Linked DNA regions of Homo sapiens: all the other regions are linked to region 2. The links are contacts of gene promoters, found by promoter capture Hi-C in blood cells and fetal thymus (Javierre and others, 2016). All regions are on one chromosome and are shown on one strand. The core of a region is centred on a gene start or on the middle of the fragment in contact, and the rest is flanking DNA. Distances in the headings are between cores, read along the strand shown. Region 1 overlaps TBC1D25 (TBC1 domain family member 25). Region 2 holds the start of GNL3L (G protein nucleolar 3 like). Region 3 overlaps USP11 (ubiquitin specific peptidase 11). Region 4 overlaps UXT (ubiquitously expressed prefoldin like chaperone).

The links. The method cuts DNA at HindIII sites, captures the fragments that hold promoters and counts their contacts. A CHiCAGO score of 5 or more calls a contact.
Region 1: a contact is called between a fragment that was not itself captured here and the fragment with the promoter of GNL3L in region 2, in 1 of 17 cell types (neutrophils). The highest score is 7.0, in neutrophils.
Region 3: a contact is called between a fragment that was not itself captured here and the fragment with the promoter of GNL3L in region 2, in 1 of 17 cell types (neutrophils). The highest score is 7.4, in neutrophils.
Region 4: a contact is called between a fragment that was not itself captured here and the fragment with the promoter of GNL3L in region 2, in 1 of 17 cell types (neutrophils). The highest score is 11.7, in neutrophils.

The regions. Positions count from the first base shown.
Region 1 is chrX:48,549,056-48,551,755 of GRCh38, forward strand. The region is part of intron 3 of TBC1D25 (TBC1 domain family member 25); the gene reads left to right. Among named protein-coding and RNA genes, the nearest start is that of TBC1D25, 11 kb to the left of the region's middle. The HindIII fragment of the contact is 254 bases long and covers 1,317-1,570 here.
Region 2 is chrX:54,528,966-54,531,665 of GRCh38, forward strand. It overlaps GNL3L (G protein nucleolar 3 like), which reads left to right and starts at 1,254. Exons shown (of 16, transcript NM_001184819.2): 1 at 1,254-1,454. RefSeq lists enhancers at 655-1,175, 830-879, 1,330-1,389, 1,400-1,659. The HindIII fragment of the contact is 4,164 bases long and covers 1-2,700 here.
Region 3 is chrX:47,239,407-47,242,106 of GRCh38, forward strand. It overlaps USP11 (ubiquitin specific peptidase 11), which reads left to right. Exons shown (of 21, transcript NM_001371072.1): 3 at 1-75; 4 at 384-501; 5 at 899-1,044; 6 at 1,181-1,242; 7 at 1,368-1,470; 8 at 1,871-2,044; 9 at 2,135-2,293; 10 at 2,676-2,700. Among named protein-coding and RNA genes, the nearest start is that of USP11, 7.7 kb to the left of the region's middle. The HindIII fragment of the contact is 8,680 bases long and covers 1-2,700 here.
Region 4 is chrX:47,653,536-47,656,235 of GRCh38, forward strand. The region is part of intron 5 of UXT (ubiquitously expressed prefoldin like chaperone); the gene reads right to left. Among named protein-coding and RNA genes, the nearest start is that of UXT-AS1, 3.9 kb to the right of the region's middle. The HindIII fragment of the contact is 1,824 bases long and covers 487-2,310 here.

The DNA.
Region 1 (2,700 bases), core at 194-2,693, 6.0 Mb before region 2:
TTTTTTCTTTTTGAGACTCTCTTTGTCACCAAGGCTGGAATGCAGTGACGCAAATATGGCCCACTGCAGCCTTGACCTCAAGCTCTCCTCCTGCCTCAGGCTTTCAAGTAGCTGGGACTACAGGTGTGCACCACCATGCCCAGCTAATTTTTGTATTTTTTGTAGAGACATGGTTTTGCCATGTTGGCCAGGCTGGTCTCGAACTTCTGACCTCAAGTGATCCACCCACCTCGGCCTCTCAAAGTGTTTGGATTACAGGCGGGAGCCACCGTGCCCAGCCCCCAACCTCCTTTCTATCATAGGTACTGCAAATATTTTTCCCAGTTGATCTTTTGTTTTTTGGCTTTGCTTACGGGATGGATCTGTTTTGTCCTATCAAAATTAAACATTTGATTGCACGCCTACACAGATATCTATCTTTTTCTTTATGATTTCTGAGTTTCTCCTTTTTATTGCAGGTGGAGGGACAGAGTTTCACTCTCATTGCCCAGGCTGGAGTGCGATGGCGCGATCTCGGCTCACTGCAACCTCCGCCTCCTGGGTTCAAGTGATTCTCCTGCCTCAGCCTCCCAAGTAGCTGGGATTACAGGCATGTGCCACTACACCTGGCTACTTTTGTATTTTTAGTAGAGATGGAGTTTCACCATGTTGGTCAGGCTGGTATCGAATTCCTGATCTCAAGTGATCCACCTGCCTGGGCCTCCCAAAGTGGTGGGATTACAGGCATGAGCCACTGTGCCTGGCTGAGTTTCTCCTATTACTTTGGAACATGTTCCCCATCCATAAGCTTATACAAATATTCTATATTTTCTTCTACTATGCTTATTGTTTTCTTTTTTACATATAAATCTTTTCTCTGTCAGCATTGTGATAAGCAGACCTAGCTTTAAAAAAATCAAGATAGTCAATTATGCCAGCATCATTTTTTTTAATTTAATTTTTTTTTTTGAGACGAAGTTTTACTCTTATCGCCCAGGCAGGAGTGCAGTTGCACAATCTCAGCTCACTGCAGCCGCCGTCTCCTGGGTTCAAGCAATTCTCCTGACTCAGCCTCCCAAATAGCTGGGATTACAGGTGCCCGCCACCATGCCTAGCTAATTTTTGTATTTTTAGTAGAGATGAGGTTTTGCCATGTTGGCCAGGTTGGTGTCGAACTTATGACCTCAGGTGATCCACCCACTTCAGCCTCCCAAAGTGCTGAGATTACAGGCATGAGCCACTGCGCCCGGCCTGCCAGCATCATTTATTAAATAATCACCTTTTCTGCAGTGATTCGAAATGCCACGTTTGTCACATATTCAGTTTCCATATATACAAGCTTGGATTTATTTCTGGGCTTTCTATTGCATTCTACCAATGGGCTCTATTTGTCTACTGCTGTGCTAACACCATGTTATTTTTATGACAGTGGTTTTGTGGTCAAATTTTTTTTTTTTTTTGAGATGGAGTCTCGCTCTGTCGCCCAGGCTGGAGTGCAGTGGCGCAATCTCAACTCACTGCAAGCTCCGCCTCCCGGGTTCACGCCATTCTCCTGCCTCAGCCTCCCTAGTAGCTGGGACTACAGGCGATAAGCTTTTGCCATCCTCCCACTGTTCTTTGTCTTAACTTTTTTTTTTTTTTTGGAGATGGAGTCTTGCTCTGTCGCCCAGGCTGGAGTGCAGTGGCACAATCTTGGCTCACTGCAAGCTCCACCTCCTGGGTTCACGCCATTCTCCTGCCTCAGTCTCCCAAGTAGCTGGGACCACAGGCGCTCGCCACCACGCCCGGCTAATGTTTTGTATTTTTAGTAGAGGCAGGGTTTCACCGTGTTAGCTAGGATGATCTCGATCTCCTGACCTCGTGATCCACCCACCTCGGCCTCCCAAAGTGCTGAGATTACAGGCATGAGCCACCGCGCCCAGCCTGTCTTAGCTATTCTTAAATGTGAATTCTTCTATAGAAACCTTAAGATAATTTTATCCGGTTCCAGGAAAAACCCCCATTCAATTTCTGACTGGCATTGCACTGAGTTTATATATTAATTTAGGGTTTGGGAAGTTTGACAATTTTATGATAAGGAAATGCGCGTATCATGAATATTATGTAATACCACAAGCAGGGTCTGGGCCAGCAGCCAAGCAGCCCACAATGAAACACTTGGATGTTTCTTCAGGGAAATGTGTGCATATTCACACTACGTGGGTTATATAAAGACTATATATAGTCTCCTGTCAGTTCAGATCAGGTTTTGCTACTAGGTGAGTTTGTGTTTGTAGACATTCTTTGCCTGTTTTTTGTTTGTTTGTTTGTTTGTTTTTTTGAGACACTCTGTTGCCAGGCTGGAGTGCAGTGGCACAATTCCGGCTCACTGCAACCTCTGCCTCCCAGGTTCAAGCGATTCTCCTGCCTCAGCCTCTTGAGTAGCTGAGATTACAGGCACGCGCCACCACGCCCAGCTAATTTTTGTATTTTTAGTAGAGACGGGGTTTCACCATGTTGGCCAGGACGGTCTCGATCTCTTGACCTTGTGATCCGCCCGCCTTGCTTCTCAAAGTGCTGGGATTACAGGTGTGAGCCACTGCGCCCGGCCTTTTTTTTCCTTTTTTTGAGAGGGAGTCTCACATTGTTGCCCAGGCTGGAGTGCAGTGGCGCGATCTCAGCTCACTGTAACCCCTGCCTCCCAGGTTCAAGCGATTCTCCTTACCTCAGCCTCCCAAGCAG
Region 2 (2,700 bases), core at 4-2,503:
CTCTCAGGGAGTTCACCCTCCTGTGGAGACACAGTCACATAAACAACTACAGTATTGTGATAAGTGCTAGCTTAGCTGTATAGGTAAGGTGCTCTGGGTTTCTAACTCATCTGCGAAAGTCAGAGAAGGTTTCATCGAAGTGACAAGAGTTAGGTCTTAGAGAAACAGAGCAAAATTGCAAATGCAGGGGGAAAGGTGAAAGTGGTCAGGGCTGGTTTCAGGTCCAGAGGAATTTCATGTGTCTCTAGGATGAGAGGTTAGAAGCCCTCCAACGATGTAGAGAGGTAGTGAGTCCTGTTTATGTAAGGGATAAAGGGACAGATGGAGTCATTTTCAGCCCGTCTGTGCTTGAAGTGGAGAAACAAACCCACCCTCGGAGGCACAGAGTTCCACCTACTCTGTGCCCCACCCCAGGGTTTAGGCTTGAGGAAGAGGAGGGGCTGGAATTAAACCATCAAGAAGAAAACATTTGCAGACTAATATTTACTATTTTGTGGGGGAGACCTCACTTCCCAGCCAGCTCCTTGAGATGGCTTCAGAAACCCCTACTTGCCCCACTCCAGAGATATAAATTCATTCCCTTCTGCAGACGCTGCTCCGGGATTGAGGGAAGGATGGAGTAGGAGGGGAAGAAGGCAAAAGGGTGGGAGAGGCTTCTAGTGTGGGAGAGGCTTCTAGTCGTTCTGGCTCCTGCTCCAGCTCGGGTTGGGTATGGCCATAGATCTGAACGTATGCAGAAAAAGCTAGGAGTGCTCAGGGATGGTCTGGGGCTCAAGGACCCGGGAAGGTGGTTGGGAATAGCTAACCAATTCACTTCAGGTGGGGAAATACTCGGCCAGACACGTGACCCAGGCGGCCATTTTCTCACACCCTGCTGTCGCCATCTTCCAGGCAGACAAAGACACCATCCCCCACCCTTGTCTGATTCGGGCGTGGTGACTGCCTGGTTATTGAGATTTGGGAGCACGCATATTTAACCCCAGACAGATGCCCGCAGACAAAATTTTGGCTTGCAAGTAAGGTATATGGCCGCACCAGTCGACCCGCCGCTTCTTCCCGGTCATTTCCCCGTCCTCCTTCTCCCTCCTCCGCTATTTCCTTAACTACGGGGCAGGCAGGAGGCGGGGCCAGCGTGGTCGCGAAGAAGGGACGGGCGGGCGTGAGCTGTCAGTCAGAAGCTCCGCCCCCCCCCCCCCCCCCCCGCGGAGACCGCACGGTGGGCGGAGTCGGGCGCCGCCGGCCTGGGATCCGGAAGTCGGAGCCTAGCTGCGCGAGAGTTTCTGCTCGCTCAACCGAGTTGTCGTGTTGCCCTCGCTTCTCAGATCCCCGCCGGAAGTGTAAGTAAGAAACTTCTCTCCTCTTTTCTCACAATGTGCGCTCACCTAGACGGCCGGGCAGTTAGGATCGTCTATTGGATGTGAAACCAGAGATGCCCGCCAACCTGGAATAGAGAGGTAAACAGCAGGATCCCTTCCAGGGTAGAAGGGACCGGAAGAGGGGCAGGGATCGCGGCACACGTGGAGACGCGCCGAATTGCCTTTTCGCGGAGTGGAGTTTGCCGGGAGAGGGGCATTGCCCCATCCCACCTAGAAAGGTGTAGACCCGGGACACACTGTGTAGAGAGGCACAAACTTCACTTGTGTGGTGAAGCGTTGATCGTCCTCAAGATAGTGAGGCTTCATTCTGCATTCACCTTGTATAGACAGGAGTCGACCCACCAAAGGCATGGGGGACATCCACCCCAACCGTGTAGAGACATCTCCCTCCACCCAGCTGAGCAGCGCAGACTTCTCCCGACTTAAGGCACTTCCTTGGCTTGGCTCTAGACAGCCGTCTCGAGGCACCTCCTCAGGACAGACAGAGGCTTTGATGTATCTGCCCCCATACCAGCATAGAGGAGCTTAGAAACATTTAATATACAGAGGGAGGGCACCTCCTCCCCATACGCGTAGACTCAGAGCCCTCAGTATCGCTCCCCAACTCACCCGTCCCCAAAGTGGTTGCAGTTACAGGCCTCAGCTTATGGACAACTAAGCCAATTGCCCCCTCCTCTTAGGTTAGAGTGAGTCCCCATTGTGGAGAATCAGACCTGATCCCTACTTCCGTAGCCCCCGTTTTACCGAATGTGTAATTTTTCGAAGCACCCAACATGCTTCGAAGCAAACAGGAACAGACCTTAATCCATGAAGAGACAGTCAGGTCTGCCCCTTGAGGGGCCGTGGGGGTAGAGGGGCTCAGATGTGTTCCTCTCCCTTTGAGGTAGACACAGATCATCCCCCTACCTCCCCCTACCTCCCCCAAAGATTTAGAATCACTAAATGTAGCAAGGGAGATACCCCACAGGAGCAGATATGCAGGTCTCCCTCCCTGTAATGTTGAGAGGGAGTGACATCGCTGATTACCTGGCAGTTCAGTGCGTATGGTCTCTCCCCTTTACCCAAGGTAGTGGAGCTCAGATCTGTTTCTCTCCACCCAGGGTAGAATCACAGACGCCCCCACCCCCAAGTATTAGGGCTGATCTATTAATTTATAGCTGCATTGCCAGCCCCCTCCACACACCACCCATGCAGAGAACCAGAGCCCCTATTTCTTTCAGTGTTAGTGTGCCGCTGACTTCAACCAGCATAAAAGATGAAAGTTGTCACAGTCCACCTTCCATAGAAGGGTCCAGAATAGCTCACTGCAGGTAAGGTGCAGACC
Region 3 (2,700 bases), core at 201-2,700, 7.3 Mb before region 2:
CTCCCAGCAGCTGCTTGGCATTACCTGGTCAGCTGGTATGGTCTAGAGCATGGCCAGCCACCCATTGAACGCAAGGTATAATGGATGGGGAGGGTGCATGGCGGGGAGTGCGTAGTAAGAAAGCCTTGTAGGCCCAGCATGGGTACAGATCCATGTATGCTGGGTAGGTACACATATGTCTGCTCTCTTCCCCCTCCTAGCTCATCATACAGGTATCTTTGTCTGCTGTGTGTGTTCCCCTGTGTGGCTCTCTTTACAGACCATTGTATATGTGTGTTTGTATGCTATGTTTGTAAGGCAGAGTGTGTGCTCCTCTCATTTGAGAGGTCACAGCGCTGTGTCTGTGTGAGTACACCTGTGTCTGCACCCCTCTACTCTTACAGGTCATAGAGCTGCCCAACATCCAGAAGGTCGAAGTGTACCCAGTAGAACTGCTGCTTGTCCGGCACAATGATTTGGGCAAATCTCACACTGTTCAGTTCAGCCATACCGATTCTATTGGTGAGTCTAAGGGTCACGCAATGGGTTGGTGTTCCTAGCTACTAGTCCCAACTCAGTGACTTGAGGTTGCATAGGGTTAAGCTGAAGCTGACTGAGAAGGCACTGGTCAGACTTTGGAAGACCCAGAAGGCATTGGCTAAGTTGGGTGGAGGCACTGAGGGGATCTACTAGAGCCCTGAGGGTATGTGAGCTACATTCTAGTGGCTTACGTGGTGTGGCAGAGGATATTTGCTGGAGATCTCCAGTCTGGAGTGTGGGCCAGTCATTTGGAGACTGATTGAGGACACAGGTATTGGCCAAGCATGTGAGGTCCGTAGGGATGAGTCAGGTATGCCCAGATGGATTGATCATTTTGGGTCTCACAAAGATCTTGAATGTACTCCATCACCCCGCACAGGCCTAGTATTGCGCACAGCTCGGGAGCGGTTTCTGGTGGAGCCCCAGGAAGACACTCGGCTTTGGGCCAAGAACTCAGAAGGCTCTTTGGATAGGTTGTATGACACACACATCACGGTTCTCGATGCGGCCCTTGAGACTGGGCAGGTAAGGGTGGGGAGGGCTTTTCTGTTCAGGTGGACTGGCAGATAGACTCACCTGGCAGTACTCGGGGGAAATGAAGGCTAGGTACCCATAATGTCCTCCATTAATACCTTTCCTTCTTTCTCTTTCTCCAACCCAGTTGATCATCATGGAGACCCGCAAGAAAGATGGCACTTGGCCCAGCGCACAGCTGCATGTCATGTGAGCCCTTGGGGTATCTGGTCCAGAGCGGGGGCGTCCCACAGTAGGCAAAATGATTTAGCCCATGAGCACATTGCACCCCCATGCAGCAGGCCCTCAGCTGACAGTTTCTCATCTAACCCCAGGAACAACAACATGTCGGAAGAGGATGAGGACTTCAAGGGTCAGCCAGGCATCTGTGGCCTCACCAATCTGGGCAACACGTGCTTCATGAACTCGGCCCTGCAGGTTGGGCCATTATAGTTGTGTCTGGCACAGCCACGTGGTTGGGCTTCAAGAGCTGAGGATTGGGGACAGAGCTGGGGTCCTGAGGGGACTACAGGGCAAGGGGTCAGGATGAAAGCTGAGGCCCCACAAGTCTGAAGTGGCACGCCCACGTTCATTCCTGAACTATCAGCCTCTTCTCTCAGCTTGCCCTCATTTTCCCTCTTCTCTTCCCTGTTCCCACGTTCTTCCTTCTCGTGAAATCCTAATGCCTTCTCTCCCCTACTCTCCTGCTCCTCTCTCTCCTCCCTTCCCCTTCTCTCTTGTTTTCCTCTCTCTTTCCTCCTGGCTTCTTTTTGTGTATCCTCACTTTGAACCTTCTGTCTCCCCTCTGCCTCATTCACCTGGTCTCTGGCCTCTGCAGTGCCTCAGCAATGTGCCACAGCTCACCGAGTACTTCCTCAACAACTGCTACCTGGAGGAGCTCAACTTCCGCAACCCACTGGGCATGAAGGGTGAGATCGCAGAGGCCTATGCAGACCTGGTGAAGCAGGCGTGGTCTGGCCACCACCGCTCCATTGTGCCACATGTGTTCAAGGTGTGACTCAACCCTGGGCACCCCCGACCCCCTACGTCTCTTGGCTCTCCTAACTCCCTCTCTCTCTGATGACCCTGCCCATCTTCTTAGAACAAGGTTGGCCATTTTGCATCCCAATTTCTGGGCTACCAGCAGCATGACTCTCAGGAGCTGCTGTCATTCCTCCTGGACGGGCTGCATGAGGACCTTAATCGGGTGAAGAAGAAGGAGTATGTGGAGCTGTGCGATGCTGCTGGGCGACCGGATCAGGTAGGCTGCCCCCGCATTTGCAGTCCAATTAACATCACCAAGGCCTCTGCCTCGGGGATTTTCTGGCCTCCCTGGGGTATCTAACACGCCACCATTTTCTGTTAAGTTTCTCTACCTGACCTCAACTCCAGCCTTACTCTTAACCTTAGTTGCAATACCATATCTGCCCCCACAGTCAACCCAGAGTAAACCCCAGCGCAGTCTCCTGCCCTAAATGACCCCCAGTCTTGACCGTGAACATAGTCTCTGTGTATCCCTAGCTGGAGCTCTGCCTCTGGACTTTAGCAGTGGCCTTCCGCTTCACCCCATTTGAATGCACCCCAAGCCATGGTTTCCTCTTACCCTGGGCAAGCCCCACCACCCACCATGACACTATCAACAGGAGGTGGCACAGGAGGCATGGCAAA
Region 4 (2,700 bases), core at 149-2,648, 6.9 Mb before region 2:
CTCCTCTCTCTCACACTTCACATCCAGTCAGCCATTCTTCTTAAAATCATGACTGTTCCATTGCAGGTAATGCTTCTGATCTCCATGATATGCTTTCTCCATAGCACTGTCAACATCTGACATACTACATCATTCATTTGTTTATTGTTTGTCTCCCCTGACTAGAATGTCAGCTGTATGAGGGCAGATTTTGTTTTTTTTTGTTTCCTGCTCTATCCCCAGGGACCAGAACAGTGTGTGGCACAGAGGAGGCACCCAACGTATGTTGAATGAATAAGTGACTACTCCATTAAAAGGAACCTGAGGTTGGCTGAGTGTATGTTTAGGGACAGGAAATAAATGAAGTATGGGTGTTGTTGCCAGAGAGCAAGAATACTTTCAAGAATATTCTGGGGGTAATGCTTAAAGAACAGAAGAATGAACCTGATCAGCTCCTAAGGGACAATTTTAACATCAAAAAAGAGAACAAAATTAGTTAATGGTGTAAGCTTACCTTATGAAAACCTATGAGTTCAACACTTTAAAAGGGAGAAAAATACAGAGTTCACCAAATGCTAGCTGTAACACAAAAGGGATATGTTTATTACTGCTGATTTATTTTTATTTGCTATGTGAGAAGCAAATTACTACTGATTTAGTATGTAAGGCAGTGTGAATAGTCATATGGTTATGCTTTTTTTTTTTTTTTTGAGATGGAGTCTCACTGTGTCGCCCAGGCTGGAGTGCAGTGGCGTGATCTCGGCTCACTGCAACCTCCACCCTCCGAGTTCAAGCGATTCTCCTGCCTCAGCCTCCTAAGTAGCTGGGATTACAGGCGCCTGCCACCGTTCCCGGCTAATTTTTTGTATTTTTAGTAGAGACGGGGTTTCACTATCTTGGACAGGCTGGTCTTGAACTCCTGACCTCGTGATCCACCCACCTCGGCCTCCCAAAGTGCTGGGATTACAGGTGTGAGCCACCGCGCCCGGCCGTTAGGCTGTTTCTTCTATAATTACATGTCTATTCATGAGATGTGGATGTGTACTCCTTTCTGTGTCATCAGGAAAGAATATAGAGATTTCATCCCTTCCACTTCCCAAACAAAGAAATATACTAAGAACAGGAAGAACTGACACTTTTGATCACATAAAATGACCAGAAAGTTAGTTCAAAGTATATCCCAAGTAACCAAATATTTTTAAAGGACAGCCAGCTACATAGACTCAAATCTTCATCTCTTAGAAAAATTAAACTTCTAGACAGTCCTACTAATTACAATAAAGCAGTAAGACTCAACCATATTTTTCATCACACTAACAGACCAGGTCAGTACATCAAAAAGACCAGGCAAGGGGGCAGGCACTGACAATTTAAATACTTCATTTTGGGGAAGTACGTGGAGTCTCAAAACATTAAAATCTATTTGATAGGCTCAGGAATCCTGTGACATAACAAGGAAAGCCTTCTTATACAAACTAGACTTTAGCTGGGCGCGGTAGCTCACACCTGCAATCCCAGCACTTAGGGAGGCTGAGGTGGGCAGATCATCTGAGGTCGGAGTTTGAGACCAGCCTGGCCAACATGGCAAAACCCTGTCTCTACTAAAAATACAAAAATTAGTCGGGAGTGGTGGTGGGTGCCTGTAGTCCCAGCTACTTGGGAGGCTGAGGCAGGAGAATCCCTTAAGCCCAGGAGGCAGAGGTTGCAGTGAGCCAAGATCGCACCACTGCACTCCAGCCTGGGCGACAAGAGCAAAATTCCGTCTCAAAAACAAAGTGGACTTGGTCTAAATGACCACCAGTTCAGAATTGTGTTGACCATGAAAGCAGGCCGTTTAATTAAACTATTTGCTAATTGGTCTGAACACCAAGAATCAGAAATCTCAGCAGGTCTGAGGTTCTTTTGGGTCCACTAGCACCTGCTAGTCCTTCCCATGGCTGGAAAGGTTTGAAAAGATAAAAATTACTGAAACTCTAAGGGAGGCAACTCTGGAAAAAATGAATGTAGAACAGACATAAACACAAAACACAACCAACAAAGAAGTTTAAATCAATGGTACTCACACTTGTGAGATGTTGTTAATCTAAGTGTATTGCTCAGTGCCCCCATGCTCATTCCATTGAAACCAAGCTCACCTCTCTTGGTAGTTTCACTAGCATACCAGGCACACTATTCCTCTTGCCAGGAATGCTCTTCGCCAGATAGCCCCATGGCTTTGTCACTCAGTCAAATGATTCAAATGTCCCTTCCTCTGGGAGGCCTTCCCTAGCTACATTTCAAATCCCTCATCTATGCTCCCAACTGCCCTTCCCTGCACAAAACCGTAAATCAAGCTTGTCCAACCTGCAACCAGTGGGCCACATGCGGTCCAGGACGGCTTTGAATGCAGCCCAACACAAATTCATAAACTTTCTTAAAACATTATGTGATTTTTTTTTGCAACTTTTTTATTTTAGCTCATCAGCTATCATTAGCATTAGTGTATTTTATGTATGGCCCAAGACAAATCTCCCAATGTGGCCCACGGAAACCAAAAGATTGGACACTCCTGCCTTAAACTCAACTGGAGCCCACATTTTCTCTCCCCATCACCCCCAACACAGATCTGCTTCAATAACCACTTTAATATGCTTCCAGCATACCCTTTCAAATTATTTCAACAAACACAAAGCCGGGTACAGCAGTGCGCCTGTAGTCCCAGTTACTTGGCAGGCTGAAGCA